Linked DNA regions of Homo sapiens: region 1 is linked to region 2. Evidence: promoter capture Hi-C in 16 types of primary human blood cells and fetal thymus (Javierre and others, 2016). All regions are on one chromosome and are shown on one strand. The core of a region is centred on a gene start or on the middle of the fragment in contact, and the rest is flanking DNA. Distances in the headings are between cores, read along the strand shown. Region 1 has its middle 24 kb from the start of CRYM. Region 2 holds the start of POLR3E (RNA polymerase III subunit E).

Region 1 (3,101 bases), core at 428-2,927, 1.0 Mb after region 2:
TTATTAGAATTAAATTTATACTTACTATTTAATTTCAGCTCCTTTTCTAAAAAGCACTGAACTGCTTTAACTGAAACACTGTAATTTTCTTAATTGTACTTAAATATGTTTCTTTTCTTTTAAATTTTCTGCCTACTTTGCATAAAATGAGGTAGCCAAGACCACCTTAAAGTTCTCAGCTTGACTTGAAAAGGCTTTTTCCTGACTCTAGGCCCAAAACTTTCTTTTCTTAGAGCATGATATGGTTTGACTCTGTGTCCACACCCAAATCTCATCTTGTAGCTCCCATAATTCCCACGTGTTATGGGAGGGACCCTGTGAGTGATGACTGAATCATGGGGATGGGTTGTTCCCGTGCTCTTCTCATGATAGTGAGTAAGTCTCATAAGAACTGATGGTTTTCAAATGGGGAGTTTCCCTGCACAAGCTTTCTTGTCTGCCACTATGTGAGATATACCTTTCACCTTCTGCCGTGATTGTGAGGCCTCCTCAGCCACGTGGAACTGTAAGTCCAATAAACCTCTTTCTTTTGTAAATTGCCCAGTCTTGGGTATGTCTTTATCAGCAGTGTGAAAACAGATTAATACAGAGCATTTTCTTTAGAAAGCTTTTCACTGTAAATTCTTTCTCTGTCTTGAGATATCTGTAACTCTTTTTAATAGCCTCTTACTAGTTTTACAAACCAGAATCATCTTTGTCAAGGACCTGGGAGCCATTCCTTTGAAATGCAATCATCAAGGAAGACGGTCCCCCTATCTCCCAGTTTCTGTGGGAGGGTAGGAGCCTAACTTCCCTGAGAGCCAATTAGCAAACACAGCTGGCCTAATCACGGAGGAAACACTTGTAAACTCAGCAAACAACTCAGTATGCTTCCGACAGCCCTCCAGCACCTTTCTACTCTCATCCTAGAGCTTAAAAACCCTGCCCCACTTTGTTTCAGCAGAGTTAGTTTAGACTGAGTTCTGGTCTCTCTTCCCTAGGACAACAGCTTTGCATAAAGTATTCCTTACATATGTGACTTTCTCTGGTGTAATTTATGCTTTCACAAAGGAAAACTAAGACAAATTAAACTACCTATAATCACTGAACTTCCACAGCCCCTTCTGCCATTTATGGAACACTTAACATGTTCTCGCAATGTAAGTATCAGGACTGCCCTCTGAGTTGGATACAATAGCATCCTTTCCTCTTATAGTTATTTTCAGATATAAGCCTTAGGAAATGGAGGCTTAGAGAAACCAAGCAATTTGCCATAGGTCACAGCAAATAAATTCTGGACTAGTCAGGACTAGGGACAAGGCATTTGCCTCCAAAGTCAGTGCGTTCAAGCACTTTGCATAGCCAATATAAAATTCCTAACAGTGCTTCTATTTGATTTGATTGTGTGTATGTGTGTGTGGGTGTGTGTGTGTTGGCGGGGGGATGAGGAAGTCTCTGGAGGATTTATATGCGTGAGTTTTGTTTGGGGGTCGCCCTTTTGGGCTCTGCGCGCCCATCGCGGCTAGCGGGTGGGCCTCCCGGGCGTCGGGGAGCAGCTGCAAGCGCAGGGGGACGCCGGCAGAAGAAGGACGCGCCAGGACTCCCTAGCACGCACCCTCAGGCCTCGCCGCTGCCGCCTCCGCCTCCGCCGCTGAAGGGCGCGCGTCCACCCGGCGGGACTCCTCCTCCCAACGCCCTCCCCAACCACCAGCCGCCCGCGGGCAGGTTGGCAGCCTGGCCCTCGCGCGGACCCGGCCGGGAGCTGGCTGCACTAGGGCTGGGGGCGCGCAGTGCGCGGAGCGGTAGGAGTCAGCGGTGCGGAAGGCAGGAGGTGCGGGTGAAGCTGTCGGCGGTGCTCGAGGGGAGCACGCAAGAACCTCCTCAGTCCCTCTTCCGCACGTGCGCCCACGAGTGTAGTCCCCAGTTTGTTCCACCTATTATCCCGCAGCTCCAGTGCGCCCCACCTGTTGCCTCACCAGCCCAACGTTACTTCTTCCCTGCTTCCTCGCCAGCCCGTCTGGGGGCGGAGACCTCACCCACCGCCCCACCCACCTCGTCTCATGCTCCCACCCACCTCGTCCCATGCGCACACCCATCTCGTCCCTTGCGCTCACCCACCTCGTCCCATGCGCCCTACCCTATGCCCCAAGTCCCTGAAAGGGCCCCACCTAGGTACCCTTTTGGGTCGTCTTCAGGTTCTTTGCCTTGTCGACCCTCCTGGACGACCCCACATTTCTCCGCCTCTCGCGGGCTTCTCTCTCCCTCGTGTGCCATGGTCACCTTCAGCTGGCCCAGCCGCTGATGACAGAAGTTTAAGAAGATTCATGAGCCGCTGCTCCTCAGGGTCTACTGGAGTTTAGCAGATAACTTCCCAAAGGCCCGGGGTCCTGCAAACCCCTCATGCGGGCCACCCAAAAGATTCCGTCCTGGAGCAGACCCCGCGCCACGCGCGCTGTACTCGCGTTCCTTTTTCCAGCCAGCGCAGCCCTGCGGCTTCTGTCCGGGACGGTTCTGCGCGTGGGACGCCCAGCCCGCTTCATCTGCGCCCGCTGCCTTTACCCGCCAGCCACTCCGGCGTTTCCACCTCCGTGTATTTCTCATGCTCCCCACGTTCTATAATGCTTGCTCCTCTTGGCGCGCCCCACCCCAATTCTCGCATCCAGTGTGGCTTCCTGTTTAGAATCGCAGCTTCTGATTGGATCACAGGCCAAATTCACTCTTCCCTGCAATGCCGGATACGACTTGCTCCAGCTCCGAAGTTAAGCTTTGTCAGGAGAGGGCGCAAGAGGAACACTGCAGGACAAGGAGTTCTCTTCCTGGTTGGGGAAAAATCCAGGACTGTATAGAACATCCTCCGCCCCAAACTGGGAAAGGAGCCAACAGACCAAAGAATGACTCAGACCAGTCCAGCTTGATGAGTAGATGAGTTTATTGGGACTCACGTGTAGGGCATTTCTTTTTTTTTTCTTTTTCTGTTTTTTTTTTTTTTTTAAGAGGGAATCTCATGGCACCTCGTTTTCATCATCACTGGATGATTTCTCTGGGTTAGCAAAGGTCAGGAAGACTTGTTCCAGTGTGATCTGACAGAATAGTCTTCTAAATCAAATTGCTCTTTAGCTTGC
Region 2 (3,390 bases), core at 296-2,795:
ACTATGAAATGCAGACAATCATACTTTACTTCATCAAAGCTGTTATGGGGAGCATTACTTTAAAAAAAAAATCCAGTGCTGGTTCTCTCAATACCTAGAACAGTGCCTGGCACGAAGTTGACACTCAATATAGTACAAAGAATACTTTATATTTAATCTTCTCATTAGCCCTATCAATAGAGATTTATCATCTTCAATTTGGAAATGACGAGACTGAGGTTCAGATATAAGCAACTCATCCAAGGTGGAATGAGGACAGAAACTTGGGTCTCGCTATGTCAAAGATCCTTATTCTTATTCTTAACCACTATACTGCACGGTTTTCTGATAAACGGCAGTATGGTTAAGTGGGTAAGAGCTTGGACCCGAGAACAAAACTGTGCAGGTTCAAATCCCACCACAGCTGCTTGGCATCTGTGACCCACCTGAGTTGTCTGGGTTTGGTATTCCTCCCTATTTTCATCCCTAAAGTAGGGAAACTAAGTACCGACCTCCAGACCCCTGCGGGGAAGGAGTAAGGACAGGACGCTAATAAACGTAACCTCTGGGAAGGTTTGTTATTACTTGACAACATGTTTTCTGCCAACGTAAGCGGGTAATGACGCTAAGCCACAAGTCAAACGCTGCAAGCAGGAGCGTCACCCGGTTTCTACTGAGCCGTCACCACAACCCTATGAGGTAGGAATTTCTATTATCTCTATTTCACAGATGAGGAAACTGTGGAGATCGCTAAGATCTCTTCTTTCCGCCTCCAAGCCCAAGGAATTCTAAAGCTAACCCAAAGGAACGACCTTGTTTGTTTACTGACACCTCCTCGGACCGAATGGTCAGGGCTGTATCCGGAACACAGAGTTGGCTCGGTAAACACTGAATGGTTGCCTGAATAAATGAATGAGGAATCCCTGGCCTCGCCGGGCAGAGGCTAATCCGGTTCAGCTGCGAAGTGGGGGCTCCGGCAGGCGCAGGTGCCCTCCCTGCCCATCGGGGCGGGCCGCCGATCCCGAGCCTCGCTGTCCAATGGGTTTCTGCTCCCTCGCGGGTGGTCAGGCCCCCCTTCTCACGCCCACCACGCAGTCCCTGCCGCGAGCCGCCACTACACCCGACGCGCGGACAGGTGTTTCTTCCGTAGGAGGCCTCCCAGGCCCGGATAGGGCAGGTCGGCTGGACCCTGAGTCACCGCCGCCAGCGTCGGCCGCGGCCTCCCCAACTCCCAGGTGTCAGGTCAAGGAAGTCAGAGTCCGGGGTCGGCCTGGAGCCGGCTGCCCCTCCTCCCCGCCCGAGTCCCGAGAGGCCTCCAGCTGCTAGGCACAGCGCGGCGCGGGCCTCCTTGGCCTACTCGGGAATCTAGCCCAGGCCCACGTCGTGAGTGCGGTCCGGCTCAAGCCCCAGCTCGGGCACTGCCAAGACGGGACTCACCTCTCCGCGGGGGCCGAGCGCGGACGGCGGCAACGGCCCAGTTACCCGCGGGCTGCAGAGACGGCGGCGGCCCGGCTCTCCTCTCAGGCGGCGGCCATGTTGCTGGTGGAGAAACTCCGGCGGACACGTGGGGGGGAGCGGGCCGGCCCCAGCGTTTCCTCTTACCCACAATGCCCCGCCCCGGTGCACGCGGCTCCGCCCCCTCCGCCGCGCCATTCATGCAGGCCGTGAGCCCCGCCCTGCAGCAGGGGGCGCTGATGGCACGCGCAAAACTGAGCCAGGAGTGTATGCAGCGGGGACAAAAAGACAGCAACCCTGGCAGCGGTGGGATTCGAACCCACGCCCCCGAAGAGACTGGAGCCTTAATCCAGCGCCTTAGACCGCTCGGCCACGCTACCCAGCTGCAATATGTTTATGCCAGAAAGCTACTTAATGCTTTTGCTTTTGCATTTAATCTGGACATTGCGAGGCGTTTTCGCTGAGGTTTTTTTTTTGCTTAACGTGTGTTCAAGGTGATCCCTATAGAATTATTTTAAAAAGCCGTGTTTTGGAAAATAAACACTTGCTCCAGTCTTTAGACCCAGGTTGGTTCCGAATAGGTATTAGAGCAAAACGCATTTTTAGAAACTTTACTCTGAGTTGGATGGTTAACCCGGAGACCCCTGGTTAACCCACAGGTAATCCATACGACCCGGATTGGGTGTCTCCGGGAGAAGAAATTGATCTGATCAGAAACATGCACCAGGGGATCTGACGGCCAAACCCTGGAGCTGGTCTGGGCAGTTGTCTCTGAAAAATTATGTTTAAATTTTTACTTACACAAATAACACGCGAATTATTGCAAAATATTTAAACTTTGCAGATAAGGTACAAATGCTCTTTGACCTTGACTCGCATCCTAGGCCCCTCCGCCGAGGTAACTAACCATTATTATCTGTTTAATATGAACTATGGTTTGAATGTGTCCCCCAAATTTCATGTGTTGGAAATTTAATCCCCAATGTGGCAGTATTGTGTGGTGGGCCCTTTAAGAGGTGATTAGATCATGAGGGTGGAGCCCTTATGAATGGATTAATCTCTTCATGGATTCATGGATTAATGGGTTAATGGATTAATGGGTTATCTTGGGAGGGGGACTGATGGCTTTATAAGAAGAGGGAGAGAGACCTTAGCTAGCAAGGGAGCAGCTCAGCACCCCCTCCATATGATGGCTTGTACTGCCTGGGAACTCTGCAGGTGTCCCCCACCAGCAAGAAGGCCCTCACCAGATGCACACTCTTGACCTTGGACTTCTCAGACTCCATAACTGTAAGAAATAACTTCCTTTTCTTTACAAATTACCCAGTTTCAGGTATTCTGTTATAAGCAACAGAAAATGGACTAAAACACTATATATCTTTCTAGATCTTTTGCTGTGAATTTATATGTTTATATCTATATGGATATATATAGATATAGCCATAGAAGATAGCTTTGTTTTTATTGTGTATGGATTTGAACACAAATATTGTCACATTATTCATATAGATCTGCAATTGGCTGTTATTTTTCACCAGACTGTATTTTAAAATACCTATCCGTGTGGATATGCAAAGATATTAAAAACAAAAATGCACAAAAATTACAAAGAAAAAAATTATCATCCATAGTGCCACCACCTGGCATTAAATTAATGACTTAGTATTGTGGCATTTTTTTCCTTTTCTTTTTTCTTTTCTTTTTTTTTTTTTTTTTTTTTTTTTTTTTTGATGTGGAGTCTCGCTCTTGCTGTCTAGGCTGGAGTGCAGTGGTGCGATCTCCGCTCACTGCAATCTCTGCCTCCTGGGTTCAAGCGTCTCTACTAAAAATACAAAAATTAGCCTGGCGTGGTGGCACATGCCTGTAATCCCAGCTACTCGGGAGGCTGAGGCGGGAGAGTTGCTTGAACCCGGGAGGCGGAGGTTGCAGCGAGCCGAGATCCCACCACTGCACTCT

Evidence for each region. The method cuts DNA at HindIII sites, captures the fragments that hold promoters and counts their contacts. A CHiCAGO score of 5 or more calls a contact.
Region 1: a contact is called between a fragment that was not itself captured here and the fragment with the promoter of POLR3E in region 2, in 1 of 17 cell types (erythroblasts). The highest score is 5.1, in erythroblasts.

Annotation. Positions count from the first base shown.
Region 1 is chr16:21,300,382-21,303,482 of GRCh38, reverse strand. It overlaps a transcript of CRYM not described here and the pseudogene ABCA15P. Among named protein-coding and RNA genes, the nearest start is that of CRYM, 24 kb to the right of the region's middle. RefSeq lists an enhancer at 507-1,095 and a silencer at 1,538-1,797. The HindIII fragment of the contact is 2,136 bases long and covers 610-2,745 here.
Region 2 is chr16:22,295,564-22,298,953 of GRCh38, reverse strand. It overlaps POLR3E (RNA polymerase III subunit E), which reads right to left and starts at 1,545. Exons shown (of 21, transcript NM_018119.4): 1 at 1,417-1,545. It overlaps TRL-AAG2-4 (tRNA-Leu (anticodon AAG) 2-4), which reads right to left and starts at 1,814; the gene lies at 1,733-1,814. RefSeq lists silencers at 325-464, 1,475-1,924 and enhancers at 675-814, 1,257-1,801. The HindIII fragment of the contact is 19,375 bases long and covers 1-3,390 here.